Linked DNA regions of Homo sapiens: regions 1 and 2 are each linked to region 3. Evidence: promoter capture Hi-C in human tissues and cell types (Jung and others, 2019). All regions are on one chromosome and are shown on one strand. The core of a region is centred on a gene start or on the middle of the fragment in contact, and the rest is flanking DNA. Distances in the headings are between cores, read along the strand shown.

What was found. The method cuts DNA at HindIII sites, captures the fragments that hold promoters and counts their contacts. A contact is called where the count stands out against the background at its distance.
Region 1: a fragment that was not itself captured here is called in contact with the fragment with the promoter of HAPLN1 in region 3 in 1 of the 25 tissues and cell types used here (aorta).
Region 2: a fragment that was not itself captured here is called in contact with the fragment with the promoter of HAPLN1 in region 3 in 1 of the 25 tissues and cell types used here (IMR-90 fibroblasts).

The regions. Positions count from the first base shown.
Region 1 is chr5:84,280,613-84,284,937 of GRCh38, forward strand. All of the region lies in intron 1 of EDIL3 (EGF like repeats and discoidin domains 3), which reads right to left. Among named protein-coding and RNA genes, the nearest start is that of EDIL3-DT, 100 kb to the right of the region's middle. The HindIII fragment of the contact is 4,880 bases long and covers 1-3,887 here.
Region 2 is chr5:84,234,576-84,238,581 of GRCh38, forward strand. The region is part of intron 2 of EDIL3 (EGF like repeats and discoidin domains 3); the gene reads right to left. Among named protein-coding and RNA genes, the nearest start is that of EDIL3-DT, 150 kb to the right of the region's middle. The HindIII fragment of the contact is 4,508 bases long and covers 1-4,006 here.
Region 3 is chr5:83,719,113-83,722,980 of GRCh38, forward strand. It overlaps HAPLN1 (hyaluronan and proteoglycan link protein 1), which reads right to left and starts at 1,743. Exons shown (of 5, transcript NM_001884.4): 1 at 1,677-1,743. RefSeq lists a silencer at 3,328-3,387. The HindIII fragment of the contact is 27,926 bases long and covers 1-3,868 here.

The DNA.
Region 1 (4,325 bases), core at 198-2,697, 560 kb after region 3:
GGAAAAATCACTGAAGATCTATAATTTGGTGATCACTTCTGTAAAGGAGAAAAACCTAGGCCAGGGGTGGTGGTTCACGCTTGAAATCTCAACACTTTGGAAAGCTGACACAGTAGGATGGCTTGAGCCCAGGAGTTCTGGGCAACATGGTGAGACTCTATCTCTACAAAAAATTTAAAAAAATAGCTAGGCGTGGTGGTGCATGCCCATAGTCCCATCTACACAGGAGGATGAGGGCTTAGGTAGGAGGATTGCTTGAGCCCATGAGTTTGAAGCTACAGTGAATGAAGATCACCCCCTGCACTCCAGCCTGGGCAACAAAGCAAGACTCTGTCAAAAAAAAAAAAAAAAAAAAAAAGGAAATAAAAACCTTGGCATCTAATTCACAGGATCATTGTGAAAATTAAATAAGTTAATGTTTGCAAAGCCCTGAGAACAGTGGTTGGCACATATTAAATGTTCAATAAATGACCATTATTATTATCAACTACAAGTATTCCATGACCTATTTAAGGAATCTTATAAGTTTTCTGAAGTCTAATGCATTCTCTTTTTCTTACCAGTTTGTTCTCATTCAATTCTATTTCTTACCTTTACTGTGATCAACAGAATTCAAAACATGACTTTCATAATTTCTGATATTTTATTCATAGGCTACTGTCTAAATCAGTTTAAAGTAGAATAATAATTTGACTACAAATGGAGAAATGTGGGTTCTATCATGTCTGACATCACTTCAAGCCCAAACACATTATTCATTTACCTTTTGAATGCCTTTTGCAACCCACATTCCCTTTCAGTAATGGGCACTCCACTATAGTGCATTTTAGATCTTGTTTAAATCTGACTCATGTTTCCATCTTATCCTAATGCCATAATCCACATGAAACACTCAGCAAAGTATCTAATCAGTGCTTAAAAATGTTAGCTGTTAATATGGTTTGTGGGTGACATCTGTGATCACAGTGTGGAAATGGCAAGTACACATTTTTTCTTTTTCTGCATGGGCAGTTGTGTGTATACTCTTGACTCCAGCTTGTTCTCTTCTGATTATGACAACCAGATGCTCTCTAATCTAATCCTGGCTCTGCTAATAATAAACTATAACCCCAGGCAGTCCAAATACTTATTTTAAATTATGAGATATTTGAAGAGTGAAAAGAAGTATGAAGAATAGTATAATGAACACCTATGTATCTACCACCTAACTGCCAGATTTCAGCATATTCAACTTTTATTTCACTTTTTTTTTTTTTTTTTTTTTTTTTGAGGTGGAGTCTCACTCTGTCACCTGGACTGGAATAAATGCAGTGGTGCGATCTCGGCTCGCTGCAACCTCTGCCTCCCGGATTCAAGTGATTCTGCTGCCTCAGCCTCTGAAGTAGCTGGGATTACAGGTGCCGGCCACTACACCCAGCTAATTTTTTTTTTTTCATTTTTAGTAGAGATGGGGTTTCACCATGTTGGCCAGGCTGGTCTCGAACTCCTGAGCTCGTGATTTGTCCACCTCAGCCTCCCAAAGTGCTGGGATTACAGGCGTGAGCCACCGTGCCCGGCCTCATATTTTTTAAAGAAACAAAACATTAAAGATACAGTTGTAAGTCTCTGTGTGCCCCTCTTTTATTACATTCTTTTCTCTTGCACCCTCTTCAGAAGCCACTAATACAATTTTTATATTTATAATATGAATGCATGATTTGTACTTTTAAAACAATCTAGAGGTCTACTTTACTCTCTAAATTTTACATATGTTATCAACTTTCCTTCTATATGTTGCTTTGTTTCCTGAAACAGTGTTTTTGAAATTTATCCGTTTTACCCAGAAAACTTCAATTCATACACTTTAGTTGCTTTATAGCATTTTATTGTATAAATCTACCATAATTTATTTCTTCATTCTCCTGTTTACAGATATTTGGGATTGAAGTTTTTCCTGTTTTTTGCAATTACATTTTAATATATTTTTCCTTGTACCCTGTGCAAAAATTTATTTTGGATATGTACCTACAGATAAAGTAGCTGCATGAAATGATGTGTATTTACTAAACTATTCTCAAATTGTTTTTCAAGCAGTGGTATCTACTTATATTCCCACCACCAGTGGGTTAAAGTCTCTACTGCTTATATCCCAGCTTTTTATTATCTGTGAATCAATGAGTATAGTATCATATCAATGCATTGTTTTAGCTTGCATTTCTCTGATTTCTGTTCAGCTTTCTTTTTTTTACTTTGAGGAAGGTGAAATATGTAGTTAAGTATATAATATTAATATTCAGTAACTGTTATTTCTTTTTCAGTCTGTTTCACACACTTTTTGAAAAACTAGTACAGAGAGATCACATTTTATCATTCGATTTGTTCTTGAAATTACCTGATCAAATGTTACGTAGGAAATATAAAAGGGTATAAATAAAATGCATCTATTTCTTTTTTTTTTTAACCAACGTTACTGTGAAAGAAGGTAAGCTGGTAAAGTTTATATTGGGCTGATGTGTTCAGTATTCATATATAGGAGCAGATATAGAGCATAAGAAACATATAAAAGAGCTGACTATAAATGTCCACTAAGCAAGGCTACGGTTTATTCCCAATTGTGCCATCCCATATTGGTATTTAATAGATGGCTGTTGATGATACAATAATCATAACATCATGGTGATAATCATTATAATAATTATAAGATCAGTTAACTATTCATGTTTAGTTAGGTTCAGAAACTGCTGTGATTATGGTTGACTGCTGTCTTTTTAAAAGCACAATTTTCTTCACCCTAACTTCAATTTTTTCCATAAGAACAAAACTAGGATAACTCTGGATTTGCTGAGGTATCTTTAAAGTCTTCTATTTTTGAAGCAAAGTGTGACTCTAGGTTTTCCTTCAGAGGCCATTTTAAATGAAACCAGTCTACAGCTTAAAAACCTTCAGTGGTGCAACACTGAGTTTGCAACAATCATCTCAATTATTTAGAACAGCACACAAATCCCTGTCCACATTTCTAACCATATTGAACACGACTACTTATAATTCACAAATCTTCCTCAATCTCTCATTATCACTGGGCACCACAGTGCATTATCCCTTCTGGAAAAAAGTAATGTTTTACATATATTCCTTGTGTCCTAGCATATATTCCTAGTTTTCTTTCTACTCCTCTGTAAGCTTTTTTGTTTGTTTTGTTTGCCCACCAGGTATCTTAAGTCATATGTCTCTATGAGATCACAAGTTTACTATGTTCAAAATTGAACATAAGCTCCCTCAAACCACCCCGCAAAACTTTTCAGTGAAAAGCACACCACTCATCCAGCTGTACAGGACCAGGTAGAGGAGCCCCTTCCTCTCATTCCCAGAGTTCAATCTATCACCAAATCCTTTTCATATTCTACCTCCTAAAACATCCTGGTACCTATTCACTTCCTTCCACCTCCATTCTCAACACCATCATCGCACCTCACATCTTTACTTCAGATGCTCCCTTTGCCAAGAATCCCCACCCTCATTATTATTCATTTTCTCCCCAGGTCTGTTTAATATACATGTCTGTGATTTGTCACATTCATTAGCCATTTGGGTTGTTTAATTTGTCTATTTTTAAAACAAAATGCATTGTCAATATTTGTAAATATTCTGTATGTATATGTTTATTCTACTTTTAGCTCCTTTTAGTCTTTATCTCTTCATTGTGAAGTGACCTTTCCAAGTCCCAGTTGTCTTCTTTGGCACTCATGAGTGGTGCAGCAATGCCTCCCAGAAGCCCCATGACATTTCTCCTACGGCATGGCTACTATACCCATGCACTTGTCCTATTTACTGGTCCCCTGTGCCTCCAGACCATGAAATTGTTAAGGACAAAGGCCCATTCTTCCTGACTTTATCACCAGCACCTAGCATGCTACACAGGCCATCATCACTGTCCAAAAAATCTCGGCTGCAATAATTGGTTATAATCAATCTCATGATATTGATATTTCCAAGGAAACTAGTGGTAGGGTTACATGATTACTTTTCTGTTTTTGTTGCTTTTGACTAAGTAATGTTTCTGCTTGAAATAATGATAATGTTAATTTCCAAAAATCTGTAAATCCTTTTGTCCTAACCTCATAATTAAAAGTGATGCAGTAAAAACAAAAGATCTGAGGAATTCAAAGACCAAAGATCATACTTGGAAATAGACCCTGCAGCAAACTGCTGGAAAGCTATCTTTGTTTTCAGTATAAAAAAGAAAATTCTATCCCATTACTTCTTAAAATGCATTTTTTTTATTTGTAGTTAAGTAACATTCAGCATACAGAAAACAATGGGGAAAATCTATAAAAACTATCATTTTC
Region 2 (4,006 bases), core at 664-3,163, 520 kb after region 3:
AGTGTTTTAAGTAAACTTTTATAACTTGGAAATTATACCCATTAAAAACAATTTTACACCCAGTGTGGCTTACCATCAAATAGGAAAATCTCATTATGAAATATAAAAACTACATTTCTTAGTATATTATAACATATTTTACATGTGAATGTTAATTCAGAGTGACTTATTGATCCTTTTGTTGGCTATATCATAAATTTGGTTAAGCATGTACCAAATATGTTTTCAAGCATATAATTATCTAGTCATTAGTTATTTCCATAACAAGAACTATGTATTATTGTATTCTGACAATATTTTACAATGTTTTATTCAACTGCAGTGATGCAAAAATAGCAATCATGATATTTATGCTTGATTATTTATGCCTACCCAGATGTCAAGTGCTCTACATGTGTGTGTATGTTTGTGTGTTGAGGGAAGCAGAGGCATTACTAAAATTAGAGTAAACTATTATTTAAATTTGTGAACTCAGTCATTAAAGAAGGATATGGAGTTGCCTGCGGACGTATCCATAGAAGTACTGAGAGAGAGGTTTGGGTTAATTTGGTTTTTGTTTTATTATTTGTTTATCTGTTGTCCTTGGCCAATGGCCCAACTGGGATATGACTTTGTACTTAAAGGTTGCTATTACTAACTTCTTCCCTGTGAAAAGTATAACAAAGATGATTAGTTTCCTCTGGCCAAATATTTCAGACAGCATATGATGTGGTCAACTCCACAATCTCAGAACTGCAGAGTATTTGGGTCACTGTGAGGCACAGCATTGGATTTGCATAGAAAATGCTTGAATAATCAAAATGTTTCCATTCTATCAACATTTTACATGCATTGTGATTCCTGTGCAAAATTTGGAGAATGGCATCCATTGAAGTATTGATAATATATAACACATAAAACATAATTTTGTACACATGTAGTTAGCATGTAAACATATATTGAATTTTTATTAGTCTCTCCCATTAGACTAAGAGTTTCATGAGGACAGGGCTGTAGCATTTTTTTGCTCACCATTACATCCGTAGTTTTCAAAACAGTGTCTGGAACACTGGAGGAACTGAATAAATATTTGTTGAAAGAAAAGATACACAAATGTTTAATACAGTCATTTGTATTAAATAAAGCTCAGCTGCTTCATTTTGTAATATTATTAAATTAATCAAAGAAAGCCTTACATCTCTGTATATGTTTCATCATATAAATATATACATAATTATATATAGTTTCTATAGCTATATGTCATTATATAAATCAGATTTTCCTTCTTGGGGTAGGAAGGAAACAATATAATTATTATAAAGACAATGGTTGCTCTAAAGACCATTAGATTATCTCATGAAAAATTAAATCTGTGATTTTTAAACTAACTCAGAAAACATGAAACTATGATTTATTAATTAAGTAGATTCATTTAAACAGAACCACAAAATGTACTTTTAATGTTTAGTGGTGATATAGTTTACATGGGTTTTACAATGTATTTATACAGTGAATCATTTTAACAGCAATTACCAGTGCATTTGTGATTCTCTCATTTTAGAAAGAGGTATAAATGAGAAAAATAACAAAAAAGAATGCAAGCTTTGGGTTCAATTTTTGCCACTGAGTAAGAAAACTAAAACTAAACTGAACAAAAACACGTATTTTATAAAAGTAAGCCAGAGTACTGGGAAGCTGGAAAGTAATATGACTCAAATAGCCTACATTCATATCCCAGCTGTTATTAGTCTTTGAGAACATAATTAGGACAAATTCTCTTACTTAAAGGAAGTAGTAAATATCTTTAAGTTAGGTGATTTGATATAATAAGGGGACTTACAATTCAATATTTTGGTGTATCTATTCAATTGTCCTTAAATATCCTTTGTTTATTAAATGTGCCCTTCCTCCCTATCCAAACCCAAACCATCCTTGTCGACTGAATTCAAGTTTCACCACCTTCAACTCCTTAGTATTTATTTCAGTCTCCAGATATTCCCTTCTAACCCCACTACCTTTTAAACTATAACCGAAAGCCAGTTCTAAACAGAATGGTACATAATATTTTCCAGCTTTGTTTCCCAAGCTGGACATTATTCTTCCTTGGAGGGCAAATGTTTTAATTTTGCACAGTGTATATAATTGGTTCTGAGTAAATATTTTTGGAAAGTTGTCCAATTTTAAATTGAGAAAATGAAGTCCAAAAGTAAATTTAATGACTGTTTTTACCCTTTTTTTTTTTAGCTTTGTAAAATGAGGATTGAAAATTAAACCTAAGAAAATTCATGGGCAAATAAAACGAAGAAACTTGTAAGGGATAAAGCAGATCAAAAGTTAATATAAATGATTTCTCAGATTTATCCATTTTCAATAAAATTAATAAATTCATAATCTTTTTGAAAATTTAATACAGGAAAGAGAGAATCATTAATTCTACAATGAGAATGCTGTTTAATGTCACTAGAGAAGCCATGAAGCCGAGGCTACCAGCTCACTAGATATGAATTTCAGATGGTCACAGCATCCATGTTATTTTGTTTCATAGCACCTGACAGCAGGAAGCTGATACTCTCAGGCTCCTTTATGTTCTATGGATTTCTGCTTTATTTATGTGTGGGAGACTACTCACTTCAACCTCAATTCATTTCCCTAAGTCTGGACAAATGAGCTAATCTAAAAAGCAAATCTGCTAAAACCAAAAGAACAGAAAACTAAAAAGTAATGAATTGATCAGCAATACTGGCACAAATCTCAGTGACAGTATCCACTTAAGAAAACCACAGAATCATTGCACATAAAATGTTAATGCTGGACAAGACTTAATGATTAAGAGTGTTGTCAAAAAAAAATCCATTGGTACAATGGGTTAAGGTTTGCATTAGAAAATAGAAGTATATTTATTAAATCACCTAAATTACTAACTAAAATTCACCACAAGCAGAATTTTGAAGTAAATGGATATGGCATAATTTGTTTCACTAAGTCTTTAGTGAATAATACTTGGATGAATTCCAGGACTTCTGTCTTATAAATGAGGTTTCAATGAATAATCAGATTTCATTTGAATCATGGTAGAAACAAAGAAAATAAATTATCTAATACTTTTATTAAATAAAGTCCATAATCCTAAACACAATGTAAAATATTTGCTTTTTGTAAGAAAGATTTTTAAAAGATCCTCTTTGATGCCATCCTTTTTGATGCCATCAGCCTATTTTTTAAAAAAAGGACTATGCTTCTTAAATATATTGGATGATATTATATTTCTGCCATTTTCCTGTGAATGTTACTCTCTTGCTTTAATAAAGTTACCATTAACAGAGATATAGTAAAACTTCCAATGTCTGATGTCCAATAGCACAAAACACAGAGACAAACAAATGACTGATCCATGTGCCTGGCAGATGCAGCCTTAGACCAATTACTGGTTTCCCTGCCCATCATCCCACCCCAGTAGAGATGCTTAGGGCTGAATACTGAATATTCTGTGTCTTCTGAGATATAAATAATATAAAACTTCAATGCTTTTAAAAAATAAATGGTGATGAATTTAAAGATAGAAAATTACTTCATGGTAGAATCTTGGCAAACGGTGTGTGTGTGTGTGTATGTGTGTGTGTGTCACAACCAAGTATTTCATATGGTTACAGTTATTTCAAACATGACTTTTTACCATTTTAATATCTGTGAGGTCTTTTAGTAAAATATCATTGCCTTTTCATTGCTTATATTCCAAAATAATTCAGAAATTTTACAATGGCTTTGAAATGATGTGTTCCCAAAATATAGATCGACACATTTGGCTTAATTAAAATATATTTTGAAATTCAAAAGATGAAGGGGGAAGAAAAAAAAACAGTGGGCAGGTCTAACTTGAAGAAAGATGAGATATTTCCGTGAAATCTGTACGTGTCATTTTGGTCAGGGGGAGTTATCTTTTTCATGTAGTTTTAACTCATCTCAAGGACACTAACCATAAGAAATAAAGCACAATTTCTGCTTGATTACGTAGAGCTAATCTAATGTG
Region 3 (3,868 bases), core at 493-2,992:
TTGATTCTTCTCTGTGAAAGTCTCTTCAGTACTTCTAAATTACAGTGTCAGTCATTCCTCTGAGAGACAGGGCCTTGCTGAAAATAAATGGCTCATTTTATAAATAAGTACATAATGTTTCCCCACCTTCTTGTTTCTCATAGAAAGCCCAGGCCCATAAGGCATTCCTGTCGAGAATACTGGCCTCTGGGTACATTCCTCCTGTAGAGCAGTGGTCTGTTGAGGTTGTTGGTTATCTCTTGTTCATTTAATTAGCCTTAAGTAAAATTACTTCTTATCTAGTTCTGTTTTTAAGCTGTTTCCAATTTAGTGGAAGAGGTCATCAACAAAAGTATAAATTCATTTCTTAGCTGAAACAATTAAATTTTTTAAAATGGGTGGTATAAAAGTGACTAAAGACTAAAGCTAATATCTGAAGAGTCCTTTGGTATACATTATATTTTACTGAATGGAAGAGAAACTTTCATTTTTGTAGGTAAATGGAATTTGTTAACTGATATAAGAATTATGAATCATATCACATTAAAAATTCTCCAAAGATAACTACTATGATATACTTTTGATAGAACAATATTCCCATTCCATTAAAATACTGAAATGACTGAAATGTGTATAAAATCTCTGCAAATTTAGTACACAGAAATAATCACATAGAAATAGTTACCAGAAACTACAATTGTAATGAATAAATATTACATTCATTTAGAAATCAATCCACAGCCTTAATTTCTTAAGAACTATTAGCTTCCAAGAAGCCAGCCAGTATGTTTGATTTTATGACATCACACTGGAACATGTACAGGAACACTTTCCACCCTAAAAATTCCCAAATGTACTGGCCACTGTGTGTATTTTTCCAGTGATAAATGAAAATAAAGCAACTTATTCTCAAATTAATAAGCCATCTTATTTTGAACACAACAGTCACATTCAATGGAAGAAAACTACTTAATCGAAGCCCAAACAAGTTTAGGTTTGTTTTTGGTGGGGAACAGTCTCAACATACAAATAATTTCTTTAAGCAACTTTTAACAGTAATCTTAACTATGACTATAAATTCTCTTCAGTGCATTCAAATTATCCATCAACATCATTGTATATATGAAATGCATCATCATTCTATGATCTTAAGTTCATAATTAGCTGGAGAAGGAAGCCTGGGCCAAAAATGGCAACATTTCTAAGATTATTAATCTAACAGGTATTACCTATGCCTAAAGTAACTTTCTTTTTCACATAACCCTATATATTCTCTGAAACAAAATTCATAAGCCTGGCTGGACATTCCCATTCCTCACCTTTCCCTTCAGCCTATACTATCCTTGTTTCATCTCAGGTGCTATAAAAATGGTTGTTGAGATACAGATAGAAAAGTCACCACTTGGAAACCATGACCCTACCAGATTTACAGGAGCACTAGCAGAAGCTAAGATACTAGAGTTAATTCTTTCTCCATTTTTAGACTGAGCCTGTTTATTGTAGTGAAATATTTTATCCGACAATATGAAACTTTTTTAAAAGTTGAGGTGTCATATTAAATTCAAATGAAAACTAAACTCAAAAGAAAAGAATAAAATTTGTTTAATGTATATATACATTGCATGTGTATTGCCCTCTGAAATCTTAAAGGCACAAAGGTATAACCAAAAGAGGGGGAAACAATTTGCAAGTTTTACCTTGTCCTGAAATCCAGGAGTTCGGATGCTCTCAAGTTCTGCTTAAGTTGGAAGCTGGAGATCAAGTGAAGCTAGCGCTCTTTCTCCTCACCTTAAGTTTGTCTCTGGGCGAGTGTGAGAGTGTGTGTGTGTGTGCGTGTGTGAGTGTGTGTGCAGAATGTCTCTTTGTGGCGCTGGATGGCAGAGGTCCTGATCCTGGGAAGAAGGAGGCACTTTCTCACCAAGAGCAGAAGAAAAGCAAAGCGTCACCAGGAAAGTTCTCCTCCCAAATCCCCTAATTACAGCCTAATGTGCACTTCATGCAAACTTCAGGGAGGAAGGGAGGGGCAGCTCTGTGCCCAGACCTTGTAAAGCAGCAGCCTCTTAGATGACTTTCCCCTCTGCTCAGATCCCGAGTATCCCGCTCTGGGGTTTAGGAAAGCCGGCCGCTACAGCCACACAAGCCCCCACCACACCACACCTCCCGAACCCGAACCCTCATCAGTCCTGGGTCTGTCCAGAAGGGATGGGACAAGGGGTCTGTGGAATGATCTGCGGGGCAGCGGTGTGAGCAGACTCCTCAGGACAGTCAGTTTGCGCTTTGTTTTATTAGCCTCTGCTTAAAAGAAAAATCCAAGGGTCGGAGAGGTCCTCTCTTTCCCGCCTTCCCCTCACCAAAGGAGATCAAGGATAACAGACAATGATGATAGTGGCACATAAAGCTTCTTAAACTGGAGATGGCCTTCCACCCAAATCACCAGAAGCATATTTTCTGGTTTACTGGACTCAGTATTGGTGTTGAGTTTAAATTTCTCTTAACAAACAACTGCTATTGTATCCTTGGATGACAGAGCTCAAAGAACCTGGATTTATTTATAGAACGAGGAATGCGAGGGGGAGACGGGATGGGTGGGGTTGGGTTGTGGATCCATAACCAGGATTAGAACCAGATGGGCACAGGGCGCGCGCGCGCACACACACACACACACACACACACACACACACACACAGACACACACACCCCTGAAATAACCAGTGGGGAAGATGCTGGGACACGCGGGAAAACGCCTCCTGAACAAATAGACGTTTATTTATAACTTCTGGGAGAGTATATAGGTCCATTGATTCCCGCCTTGAGTAACCAAGGGTTTTGGAGAGGAAATGGCTTCATATTTCAATAACAGAGCCACCTTTGATGGAGTCTAGGAAGGGGAAAAAAGAAACACACCGCAGGAAGCAAACGGCTGTTGGAGCAGCCGGGAGGAGGGAGCGGGGCTGGCCCTGGGACTGAGGACAAGCAAACAAGCTCGAGGGGCCCGCGGCCAGGGTGGAGGCGAGACGCAGGCCGTCCCCGAGTTGCAGCGAGCAGGGCCCGGTGTCGCGGAGCGCTGGGGACGTGCGGGGATTCGCGGCCGTGCTCCCGGCTCCAACCTCCGGCCCCGGCGGGGCGGCGCGGGCGGGACTGCGGGCTTCTTAAGGCCGCCGCCGCCGCTCGGGCTGTGGCGCGGGTTGGGGAGAGGGTTCCGTGGGCCGTAGGGACTGAGGGAGTCGTAAGTCGATGAGCTAGTGGGGCAGGAGGATGGGCGGGTCCAGGGCGTCCTGGAGGTGCAAGGTGGGATGGGAGGACCTGAGGGGCAGCCAAGCTGCTGGGGAAGCCGCCGGGACGGGGGCTCTGGCCGACAATGCAGGTGGCCGGTGTGCAGATGAGCCAGCGCGCGGGGTGCGGCCGCCGGGATGCCCGATCCGAGTCGCGCGGGTGGCGGCGAGCGGCGCTATTGTCTTAAAGATAAAGCCTAAGCCACGGGGACTGCCTCCTCCTGGACTCTGGAGAGAGGCGGGAGAGATTGCAGGGGAAAAAAGGCTTCTTCCCGCGTCTTCTGAGAGATTTCACCAGTTCTTGCCTCTGGGCTCCCCCTTGCCATTCTGTCTTTGGTAAATCAACACGTGCCTCTTGGAAAGGTTTCATTTCAAAGACAAACGGAACACTCACACACCCTCCCTAAATGAAGACAGTTATATTCAAAATGAATTCTTCATCAGGCGTTCAACACCTTTCTTGGAATTCCAAAACCTGGGTGAGGGCGCTTCTCTTATTTTTCTGTTTCCCCTCCCGCACAGGGAACAGGTTTTGCAGTTTTATGTCCCTAATCTAGTGGCTATTGAGGCAGCTGTTATATAGGCCTCTACATTAACTGCCAATAAAAATAAGATAC